Regions from separate parts of the Homo sapiens genome. Here all the other regions are linked to region 1. Evidence: promoter capture Hi-C in human tissues and cell types (Jung and others, 2019). All regions are on one chromosome and are shown on one strand. The core of a region is centred on a gene start or on the middle of the fragment in contact, and the rest is flanking DNA. Distances in the headings are between cores, read along the strand shown.

What was found. The method cuts DNA at HindIII sites, captures the fragments that hold promoters and counts their contacts. A contact is called where the count stands out against the background at its distance.
Region 2: a fragment that was not itself captured here is called in contact with the fragment with the promoter of PTPRM in region 1 in 2 of the 25 tissues and cell types used here (dorsolateral prefrontal cortex and mesenchymal stem cells).
Region 3: a contact is called between a fragment that was not itself captured here and the fragment with the promoter of PTPRM in region 1, in 1 of the 25 tissues and cell types used here (IMR-90 fibroblasts).
Region 4: a fragment that was not itself captured here is called in contact with the fragment with the promoter of PTPRM in region 1 in 1 of the 25 tissues and cell types used here (dorsolateral prefrontal cortex).

The regions. Positions count from the first base shown.
Region 1 is chr18:7,565,884-7,568,583 of GRCh38, forward strand. PTPRM (protein tyrosine phosphatase receptor type M) reads left to right here and starts at 1,433. Exons shown (of 33, transcript NM_001105244.2): 1 at 1,433-2,008. The coding sequence starts at 1,936. RefSeq lists a silencer at 1,114-1,483. The HindIII fragment of the contact is 7,623 bases long and covers 1-2,700 here.
Region 2 is chr18:8,126,076-8,128,775 of GRCh38, forward strand. All of the region lies in intron 13 of PTPRM (protein tyrosine phosphatase receptor type M), which reads left to right. Among named protein-coding and RNA genes, the nearest start is that of RAB12, 480 kb to the right of the region's middle. The HindIII fragment of the contact is 3,659 bases long and covers 1-2,700 here.
Region 3 is chr18:8,093,498-8,096,197 of GRCh38, forward strand. The region is part of intron 11 of PTPRM (protein tyrosine phosphatase receptor type M); the gene reads left to right. Among named protein-coding and RNA genes, the nearest start is that of RAB12, 510 kb to the right of the region's middle. The HindIII fragment of the contact is 7,507 bases long and covers 1-2,700 here.
Region 4 is chr18:8,150,541-8,153,240 of GRCh38, forward strand. The region is part of intron 14 of PTPRM (protein tyrosine phosphatase receptor type M); the gene reads left to right. Among named protein-coding and RNA genes, the nearest start is that of RAB12, 460 kb to the right of the region's middle. The HindIII fragment of the contact is 5,911 bases long and covers 1-2,700 here.

The sequences.
Region 1 (2,700 bases), core at 183-2,682:
ACTTCTAAAGAGCAGGTCTGGTAAGTATCTAGTAAGTGGACTTCCTGAAGTAAGAGGAGTGTTGGTTGCCACACTAAAGGCAAGTCTTCTAGTCCCCAAATTTGCCTTGGGAGGATGACAGCTGTATCTTTCTTGGTTCTGGTGTACAGTGGAGAACAGGGTCAAGATGAGTGTGGAATCCATTTATTTTTTTACGTGTTTATAAGCACTAGAAAGCAGTGAGCACTAAGCAGAGGACCCCTCTTGCGGAAAAAGTGCAGGAGAGCTCCTGGGTGCCTCTGTATCACCGGTTTGCCTTCTAGCCAGAATCATTGCTAGAACCCTGTCACTCAGTTACTTTGGTTCCTAATTTAACCTCTTCCCAAGCCTTCTATTGCGTTCAGTTAGCTAGGCCAGGAGCTTACAGCTGTCTGGTTGGTGCTGGCTCAATGTGCTTATTCCCTGGAAGATAGAAGGATCACTTACAAAAAAATTTACAATTAAAATAAAAAAATTATTTTTTGCTGAAGCATTGTAAGGTTTTTTTAATTCACTCAGACCCAAAATCGTAAAACTAAAATATTTCAAGACATTACTTGATTCACCCCCCACTTCTCTTTCTCCCCTGTTTCTCAGCACTTTGCACCAGATACAGAAACCACGGGTTATGTCCAAACCCTGGTTTTGGTGTGACCACCGCCTTCCGTGTACTGCCTGCGGCTCGCTTCGGGCCCACACGGGACACCGAGGCATGATGAGGACGCAGAACAGCAGAAGCGCGCCCTGCTTCCCGGGCGCCAGTGCTCGGGGCCAGCGGCGTGTACCCGGCGGGCCCGGCCGGGAGCGGGCTGGCGATCGCGGGGCTCGGCGCTCCCGGCTCCCGCGCCATCTCCCGGCGCCCGCCAACTTCGCTCCGCCCGCGGCGTAGAGAAGCTCGCAGCCCTCCGGAGCCTCAGCGATCTCCTGGCTCGCTTTTCCCGCAGCCGCCGAGCAGCGCAGGCCCGGCGACTCCGGGTGCAGCTGGCCCTGTGCGGTGACATCGCCGTCCGGCGCCAGGCTCGAAGCCGCCTGGCCGCGCCCGCGGGGTCGCAGGCCGCTGGTCCCGCCCGGCCGCGCTCACAAACTACTCGCGGCTCGTGACCCGGGACAAACTTCTGGCGGCGGCGCAGCCTCTTCCACAGTCACCCTCCCCAGAGCCAGCTACCAAAATAGAAGACGCGGCCGGGGCGAGGAGGTGGGCGGGGGGAGCCCGGTGGCCGCTCCTCCCCGCGCGGCTGACGCCCGCTTCGGCGGCGGTAGTGGCTGTGGCCGCGGGGCCGCCCCCAGCCGAGCTCCCGGAGGCGCTCGGGCGCGGGCCGGCGGGGCACGGGCGCTCACGCCCTCTAGCGGGCCGCGGCGGCGCCGGGCGGCCGTGACGTGAGCGCTCCCTTCAGCCGGCCTGCGGGGCACCGCCAGTCAGTCGGGGAGCAAGAGCCCCGCGCGCAGCCGGCGCGGGCTCGGTCATCGGCGCGCCGCCGCCCGGGGCTGGGCTTGGGGCTGCCTGTGGAGAGGCGGCGGGCGGAACGCGCGCGGCCACGGCCACGGCCACCGCCACGGCCACGGCCGGCAGCTCGGGTCCCGGGTCCCGGGCAGGGGAAGGGGAGAGGCGGCGAGCTCAGCAACCGGAACCGAGGGAAGATTTTGGCTCCGCGGGCTCGCCCTCCGCTCCCTCTGCCAGCGGCGCCAGACGCCGAGTGGGGCCAGGGACAGGGGAGGAGGACCCAGGACCCTGTGCCCGCGCCCCTGGAGCCGCTGGAGTTCGGACTTCTGCAACTGTTGGCACTTTGGGGGCTTGGCTTAGCGCTCTGCTGTTTACCCGTCTCTCCTCGCTGCCTCGGAACCAAAGCTCCCGGCCCCCTCCGCCCTCGCGCGCCCACCCACCGCCGCCGGGGAGCGGCCCGGCCCGCACTCAGCACCATGAGGGGACTTGGGACTTGCCTGGCGACTTTGGCCGGACTTTTGCTAACTGCGGCGGGCGAGACGTTCTCAGGTAAGCGGGACCGCCTCTGCCGCCCCCGAGGCGCGCGGGCCGGCGCGGGACGCCCGGGACGCCGACAGCTCCCTGGTGGTAGAGCCCTAAGGCTGGCGTCGGGGCCGGGCGGGGGGCGCGGCGGGCCGGACACCGCTTCTGCCTGTGAGCCGGGCGCTGGGCGAGGGGCCGTGGGGCTGGCAGGCACCCAGTCCTCGGGCGGGCGGAGCGGACGGACCCCGAGGGCGAGCTCCCCAGCCGGGACTGCCAGCTCGGCCGCCGTCCTTCCGCGGCCTGGGCTAGTGCTCAAGGTTGGGCGGCTTGCACTCTTGAGTCCCTGGCCGGCTGCAAAAGGAACAGCAGAAAACTTTGCTTGAAGTTCCCAGTTGCAGCCGCCGGGCCGCCTGGCGTAGGCGCTGCGCGGTCCCCGCCGACCCCGAGCAGCGGCCGGGCCCAGGCCGCTGGTGTTCGGCTGCGCCCGCAGCGATCGCCGGGAACTGGCGGCCGCTCCGGCGGCGGCGATCTCCCGGTGCCCTGCCCTCCCTGTCGCCCCCTGCCCGGCGCGGCTGGCGACCCCGGGAGGTCCCCGCGGTCGTGCAGCGTCTGCGGAGAGGCTGGGGGGAGTTCCTCGCCGGTCCCAGCGGTAGGGCTTGGCGGCCGCGGAGGGAAGCGGGCAGGTCCCCAGGCCCTGGCCACGGCCCTGCGCCCCGCTG
Region 2 (2,700 bases), core at 157-2,656, 560 kb after region 1:
TTTCAACTCACAAAAGCATGAAACAGCATTGTCTGTCTGTCTTGTTCCCAGTGTAGCCCACAGGCACCCAGGAAGTGTTTCAAATTGTTTGCTGAATGACTGAATGAATAACAGTTGATGACCTGTCTTACTAAATTTATTCCTAGGTATTGTATAGCTTTCATTTATTATTGTGAGTAAATTTTGATTGAGGGGAGGAATATTTTGAAATTGGTTTATTTTGTCTTCTTTTGACTGATTTTATGTTACTTTATGCAAGATTACAAAATATCTCTTTTTAATATGTATATATATATAAATTTAATAAGCTTTTCCATTGCAAATAAAACAAACCAATGGTTTTTCAACCCACTTACAAAAGCATAATTTCGATCACCCATTTCTTTTGGCAAGAGCCATAAAAAGGTTGAATGTTAATTGATTTTCTAAGAGAATGACCCAGCCACTCCCACCAACATTATCTGTTTTCCTCCTACTCTGCTGACTGTCTGTCCATTTCTCTACTTCCCACCAGTCAGATCCCATTTCACATCCTAAGTCCTCTTTATCTTCAGTAAACCGTGGCAGAGCTAAGATGTAGGTAGATAATGTCTGTCCTTCTGGGGACCCAAGGTTCTCTATTTGTAAGATGAAGATATAACTGATTGGATCTTAGCCACACTGAGTAGCAAGGAGGACAGTATATGGCTTGAAGATGGTGGGATTGTTTACTGAACATTAGCTTAGTTAGTAGCAGTAACAGCAGGTACAAAGGTCCGGTGGTGTGATGAAGCATGGTCAGATATGAAGAATTGCAGAAAGGTCATCATGGCTGGAGAGCAGAGAGCGAAAAGGATGTGTGGGGTGAGCAGTAAGGTGATACAGGCAGAGCAAGGCCAACTGTGACCGTGTACCTTACATTAAGGACTTTGGTCTTGATCCCAGGAGGAGTGGGAAACAATTGGAGTGTTTTAGGAGAGACAGAAAGGATCAGTTTTGCACTGTGTACTCCAAGCCACACTAGAAACATTGGAGAAGAGATGAAAAAGGCCAAAAGACCAAAAGTAAAACTATAAGAAATGGAAGACTGTCCAACACACTGGAAAAAAAAGAACAGAGTAAGTAGATGTGAATAGAAGAGGTAAAAGCCAGGAATTAATACAGTAAGTACTGGTCATGGGGAATGGATCAGCTGCAGCCAGCATGGAGGAGCACATGCTAGGGAACTTAAGGGACAGGGTCAGCCATATCAAAGGAATGCTTAGAATCCCTTCCAGGGGCCATATTTTATATATCTTTAAACTTTCCTCAGCCTGCCACTCAGTGCTTGGCACATGAACGGCACTCAGAGTCCAGCTGTATTGTTTTTTTTTTTTTTTTTGATGGGATGAAGTTATTTGTAAAAGATAAAATTCCCTTGAAGGGTGAACTAATTTTCACACTGCTTTTTAAAAAAAATAACATCCTTGCCACAGTGGCACTTCCACCTGTGACTGCAGTCAGGGTGAATGTGGTTTCAGGAGGGGCAACTGGACCAAGAGCTACACAGACCCCCTCCAGTTAGCCTTCCTTCAGACGGTGCATACAGTTTAGCTCTGACAGAAACCAAAGTTGCAGCTTTCTGTCCCTGAAATATGTAGCTTTAGGGAGCTGTCCTGTGAGCACTATCCTCTACTACTAGAGAAGCTATCATTCATTCATTCATTCATTCACTCATTCATTGTTTCCATCGATGCGCTTTCACCCCCTAGGAGAGCTGGCCCTACCATGAGCTCTACATAAGAGAGGAGGAACATTCATGGAAGTGTAGGGTATGCTCTTTGCTCTGCAGGAACTTATATTTAGTGCCTTTGTTAAGACCAACATAAACAGTTCAATAAATGCTCCACTTCCATAAGCTTACCAACACCTTGAACTATTTGTAATAGTGGTAAGTGGGTAATGAACTAAGTTAACATATACTCAGTTGCACTCGAAAACGTACTATCTCTATGATACCAGAGTCATTTTCAGTGTCAGAAGCTTCAATTTAACCTTTTGAGAGAATTTTGGATAAAAATTAAGGGAAGAAAATGCCTCCTTTAGATTTCTTTGTAAATAAAAGATGGCTAAACTCTTCATTTAAGCAGATAACCAACTGATTGAAAGTAGTGGCTAACTTAAAACTACCATTTTCCAACTAACTAGGTATCTTACTTTTTGTCAAATGTAGTATTCTGTAAATATAAGATGATTAACAATTCACACACACTGTTGTGGGCATTTCATATTAAATGGCAGAGGGGGATATCAGTGCTATGTGTTTCAGCTACGGAAGTTAATATAGAGGGTTGGTGTGAGGAGAATTTGAGATTTTTGAGATTTTCAGCATCTCTTTCAAGGGCTGCTTGAGGATTCTGAAATTTCCTTTCTGGCTAGAAAGAATGTAAAATGAGGGTAAAATTTTATTCTTTCTGCAATACCAGCTGACTGCATTTTAATGGGCTATAGTGTCACTGTTGATTTATTGCCCTTTTTGTTCTTTTATGTGTTATATTTGTCATTTTGCTGTGGCAGTTTCATCTATAAAACAGTATAGTTACAAGAAAATGGTGAGAGGATACAGGCATGCCATGAGGGATGCTGTTGCTTTTTTCTTGTCATTTTTTGGAATGGAATACTGAGTCAAATGTCAAGTATTTGATTTCAGAAACAATATATTTTAAAATCTCTATATTGCAC
Region 3 (2,700 bases), core at 182-2,681, 530 kb after region 1:
TTCCTCTATCAACAGAATCATAAATAGAATTCATATAAATTCAGATTTCTCTGATGAATCTTAAGTTTGATTGCAAGGAGCTACCAGTTTATTTGTGCATTTGCAAGTTTTCAGGAATTGATCTTATAAATAATTAGCAAACTCCCCTGACCCCAAATCTATATAATAACTCAGAAAAAAAAATGGATGTGTTTCCCTATTGATCCCTGAATCATTATGTGATTGTGGTTATTATCAGCTTAACTGAATAAACTTAGCCATAAAACAAGCAAAACGGTCTTCTGTTTATAACCACTCTAAAAGGAAATAAACACTTGGCAACATAGTAAATTTCACAATGTGCCATGGGTATGAAGAACCAGTGAGATGTATTACTTACGTAACTTAACAAAGCCTAATGTTCTAGTCACCCTTTAAGTATATGAATCTCTTTCCACTTTATTAAAAAAAGATATTTGTGATTTACATGCCATTTTATAATAATTCAGTCCTTATAATTATGTTAGAATTCACTCCCCAGATTCCAGAATTTGTTCTTTTAATCAGAATAGGTTTGTTCAAGAGTTTGATCCTGGCTTAGAGGAGCCAGCTAAATTCTATTATTTATTCAAAAAAGTTTATCCCTTTATAGTATTTTCCTGCTGGAATGACAATATTATTTTGAGAAACAAAAAACTTATAGTGTAAAACCTTGCAATGCAAAGTTTACCTTAAGATATAAATATTCTGGCCAGGTGCAGTGGCCCATGACTGTAATCCTAACACTTCGGGAGGCCAAGGTGGGAGGATTGTTTGAGCTCAGGAAGTCAAGGCAGCAGTGAGCTGTGATTATGCACTCCAACTTGGGCAGCTGAGCCAGACCCTGTCTCAAAAAAAAAAAAGATATAAATGTTTTGTAATATAAATTTTAAAGTGGCTTTATTTTAACTTAGCCTATTATAAATCAATATAGGGGCTAGACACGGTGGTTCAAACCTGTAATCCCAGCACTTTGGGAGGCCAAGGTTGGAGGATTGCTTGAGCCTGGGAGTGCAAGACCAGCCTGGGCAACAAATTGAGACCCTATCTCAATTATAATTAAATTTTAAAAATTTAAAACAAAATATAAATAAAATAAATCAATATATGGTTTCCAGATCTAAATAATGCTTACTCTAAATTAATTAGAAACTACTGAATCCATTAATAATTAATACAACTATTGCCCCTAAGATACAAGATCATATCAAGTGTCGCACATAGCCTTTTAGACAGAATTTTTCATTCTTCCTTTGGCAAATGTTAAGGAGGAAACTTCTAATATTCAAATAATCACTCACTTTATATATCACATAAATTATGGGCCTAATTTTTAAAACGAGTGCATGACATAGAGAAGGACACATTTTGAAATTAGATAAGCATAGTTTCAAATCCAGGCTCTCTCCACTTGTAGTTACGCCACTGTTAAAAATTCCATCTTAAGGTCTCTGAGCCTGGGCTTGCCTGTCTTTCCACAGCAAGGATAATACCCCTTATATCTTACAGCTGTGCTAGGATTGGATTTGTTAAATACTCATGAGGTTCAAGCACAAGGTGGTGCTAAGCATTGGGGATATGGAGGAGGCTGCTAAGGGCTCTCTTCTCCAGGGGCTGGCAATGTAGATTGGAAAGAGAGCAACATGGAATCTAGTGTCCTGTAGTAAGTAGGGATGAGGATGGGAACCAGTGGCCTGACCAGGGAGTGGTCAGTACAGGGAAGAGTCAGCTAAGACTTCAGAGAGGAGGTAACCCTGGGGCCAAGTAGCTGAATCTTGACAGACGGCTGTTGTTCAGAGCATCTGTGTGATGTGGAGTATGTTGCCAGGGAGGTTAGATATGTGGCAAGGAATAAAAAAATGAGAGAGACAGGTTGGCTCCATGAAGACAGGGAGGACTGAGTTTGGCCTGATCTGAGAATGAGAAGTGTGTTATAATCAGAGAGAGGGGTGGGATGGGAGAAGAAGCAAGGGAGATAGAGGATGAATTGGACAACCTTGTACTCCATACCAATAAGTAGCCATTCAAGGGATTCAGGTCAGGGAAAAAATGTAAGGAAGAGCTGCAGCAGCAATGGAGGATGGGTTAGAGGGCGTGCGGCCTCAGAACAAACTAATAGGAGCGGCATAAAGGCTGGAGGATGTGCTGGGCCCAGTTAAGATAGAGCTAACCCTGGCGGCATGGAGGAAGGGGGTTTCATAAATGCCAGATGCTGATTTTCATTAGAAATAGGATTTAGAGAAATCAAAAACACTTAGTCCTTTTTAGAAGGAAAAAAAGAGAATATATTGATGTTAAAAATACTGTCTGGGGTATTGTTAAAGTGAATACTAGAACGCTTGAAATTGAAAAACTAGCCTAGCAATGACTTTCCAATAATTCATTGGAAATCACTAATTATATAAATATTTTTAAACCCCAATTTTCATAAGCAGTAAAAAGTTGTTCTTAGTGTCTCTTGTTTGGAAGAACCTTCTGGATCTTTCTTTTGTTGCTTCTCCTACCTTCCTTATATTGCACCTTAACCCCTTTGCTGTGGGCCTGTGTCCATCAATTTTGTGACAATGACTGTACGTGTTGAGGTGTTACCATGATGCCTACTCAGTGGATGTGGGTGGCACCTCTGGTTACTAAAAGCTAGAGTGTGAAATGCTTCTCTCGGCTTCAGAAGGCATGCCAGCA
Region 4 (2,700 bases), core at 127-2,626, 580 kb after region 1:
TTTGTCTAACCTTTTCTCAAGGTTCTTAGCTTCCTTGCATTGGGTTAGAACATGCTCCTTTAGCTTGGAGGAGTTTGTTATTACCGACCTTGTGAAGCCTACTTCTGTCACTTCGTCAACTCATTCTCCAATCAATTTTGTTCCCTTGCTGGCGAGGAATTATGATCCTTTGGAGGAGAAGAGACATTCTGGTTTTGGAATTTTCAGGCTTTTTGCGCTGGTTTCTCCCCATCTTTATGGATTTATCTACCTTTGGTCTTTGATGTTGGTGACCTTCAGATGGGGTCTTTGAGTGGATGTGCTATTCCTTTCTGTTTGTTAGTTTTCCTTCTAACAGTCTGGCCCCTCTGCTGCAGGTCTGCTGTAGTTTTCTGGAGGTCCGCTCCAGACCTTGTTTGCCTGGGTATCACCAGCGGAGACAGCAGACCAGCAAAGATTGCTGCCTGTTCCTTCCTCTGGAAGCTTCATACCAGAGGGGCAACCACGAGATGCCGCTCAGAGCTCTCCTGTATGAGGTGTCTGTCGGCCCCTACTGGGAGGTGTCTCCTAGTCAGGATACACGGGGGTCAGGGACCCACTTGAGGAGGCACTCTGTCCCTTATCAGAGCTTCAACACTGTGCTGGTAGATCTGCTGTTCTCTTCAGAGCTGCCAGGTAGGGACATTTAAGTCTGCTGAAGCTGCGCCCACAGCTGCCCTTTCCCCCAGGTGCTTCGTCCCAGGGAGGTGGGGATTTTATCTACAAGTCTCTGACTGGGGCTGCTGCCTTTTTTTCAGAGATGCCCTGCTCAGGAAGGAGAAATCTGGCAGTCTGACCACAGTGGCCTTGCTGAGCTGCAGTGGACTCCACCCAGTTCGAACTTCTTGGTGGCTTTGTTTATACTATGAGGGGAAAACCGCCTACTCAAGCCTCAGCAATGGCAGGCACCCCACCGCCCCCCCCCGCCCCCCACCAAGCTGGGGCATCTCAGGTCAATCTCAGACTACTGCTGTGCTGGCTGCAAGAATTTCAAGCCAATGGATCTAAGTTTGCTGGGCTCCATGAGGGTGGGACCCACTGAGGCAGACCACTTGGTTCCCTGGTTTCAGCACCCCTTTCCAGAGGAGTGAATGATTCTGTCTCACTTGCGTTCCAGGAGCCACTGGGGTATGGAAAAAAAAAAAAAAAAAAAACTCCTGGAGCTAGTTCGGTGTCTGCCCAAACAGCCATCTTGTTTTGTGCTTGAAACCCGGGGCCCTGGTGGGGTTAGGCGCCAGAGGGGATCCCCTGGTCTGTGGGTTGTGAAGACCATGGGAAAAGCGCAGTATCTGAGCTGGAGTGCAGGGTTCCTCAGGCTCAGTCCCTCACGGCTTCCCTTGGGTAGGGAAAGAAATTCCCCGACCCCTTGCACTTCCCGGGTGAGATGACACCCCACCCTGCTTCGGCTCGCCCTCCATGGGCTGCACCCACTGTCCAACCAGTCCCAATTTGATGAACCATATACCTCAGTTGGAAATGCAGAAATCACCCACCTTCTGTGTTGATCTCGCTGGGAGCTGCAGACCGGAGCTGTTCCTATTCAGCCATCTTGCCAGCAATCCCAGCTTTGCACATTTTAAGTTCAATACTCCTTTAAAATTAAGTGGAGATGTTCACTGGGAGGTTGAATATGCTACTGTGGACTAGAAATAATAATTTCCATAGTCTGAAAGTCATCAACATTTCTGGAGCTGAAGCCATAGGTTTGGAAGAGGCTCCTCAGAGTTTTTGTAGAGTGAGAAGAAGGAATATCAAGGATGAAGGTAAAACCGTTGGCAACAGCAATATTTCAGGGCGAGTTAATATTCCAGTATAGATACATGCATCTACTCCTTTTCTGAGTCTCCCTCCATTTATGGTTCTGTTCTAGTCAAGCCCCAGGACAAACCGTTGCTCTGTCACAGCTGTGCGCATCCCTGGTCTTTGGTCCCCACCATTACAACTGTTTTTCCCCACTTGTCATGTGCCGTTTATCTCTTTTTCTACCCATCGTGTGATTCCTATCTTTATTTTTCATTCATTATTTATTTTCATTCCATTCCTCTCTACCCCTCTTTTCTTTACCCTTCTTTACCTATTTCTCTCTTTATTTCCTTTTTCCTCCATATTTCCCATATTTCCTTTTTTCTTTCTCTTTTTCTTATGCCTCACCTCTTTTTTTTTTTTTTTTTTTTTTTTGAGATAGGGTCTCGTTCTGTTACCAGGCTGAAGTGCAATGGCACGATCTGAGCTCACTGCAACCTCCGCCTCCTGGGTTCAAGCAGTTCTTCTGCCTCAGCCTCCCAAGTAGCTGGGAATATAGGCTCACACCACCAAGCCCAGCTAATTTTTGTATTTTTAGTAGAGACAGGGTTTCACCATGTTAGCCAGGATGGTCTTGATCTCCTGACCTCGTGATCCCCCTGCCTCAGCCTCCCAAAGTGCTAGGATTACAGGCATGAGCCACTGCGCCTGGCCTTTCCTGGATGTTCTTCGTCCATTCCCCACCTCAATGTGTATGTAGATAGCTTATTTTTGGCACCAGTAGTTTGTACTTTTTAAAAACATATGACCCAGTGTAAGTCCTAAGGAACAATAGGCCCTTCCATGCCTGGACATCCAAACTAAACATTTTGAAGAGGTTTATTTTTAATTCCGGGAATATGGTGGATATATTTTGTCATCTGGCAAGTTCTCTGTGAG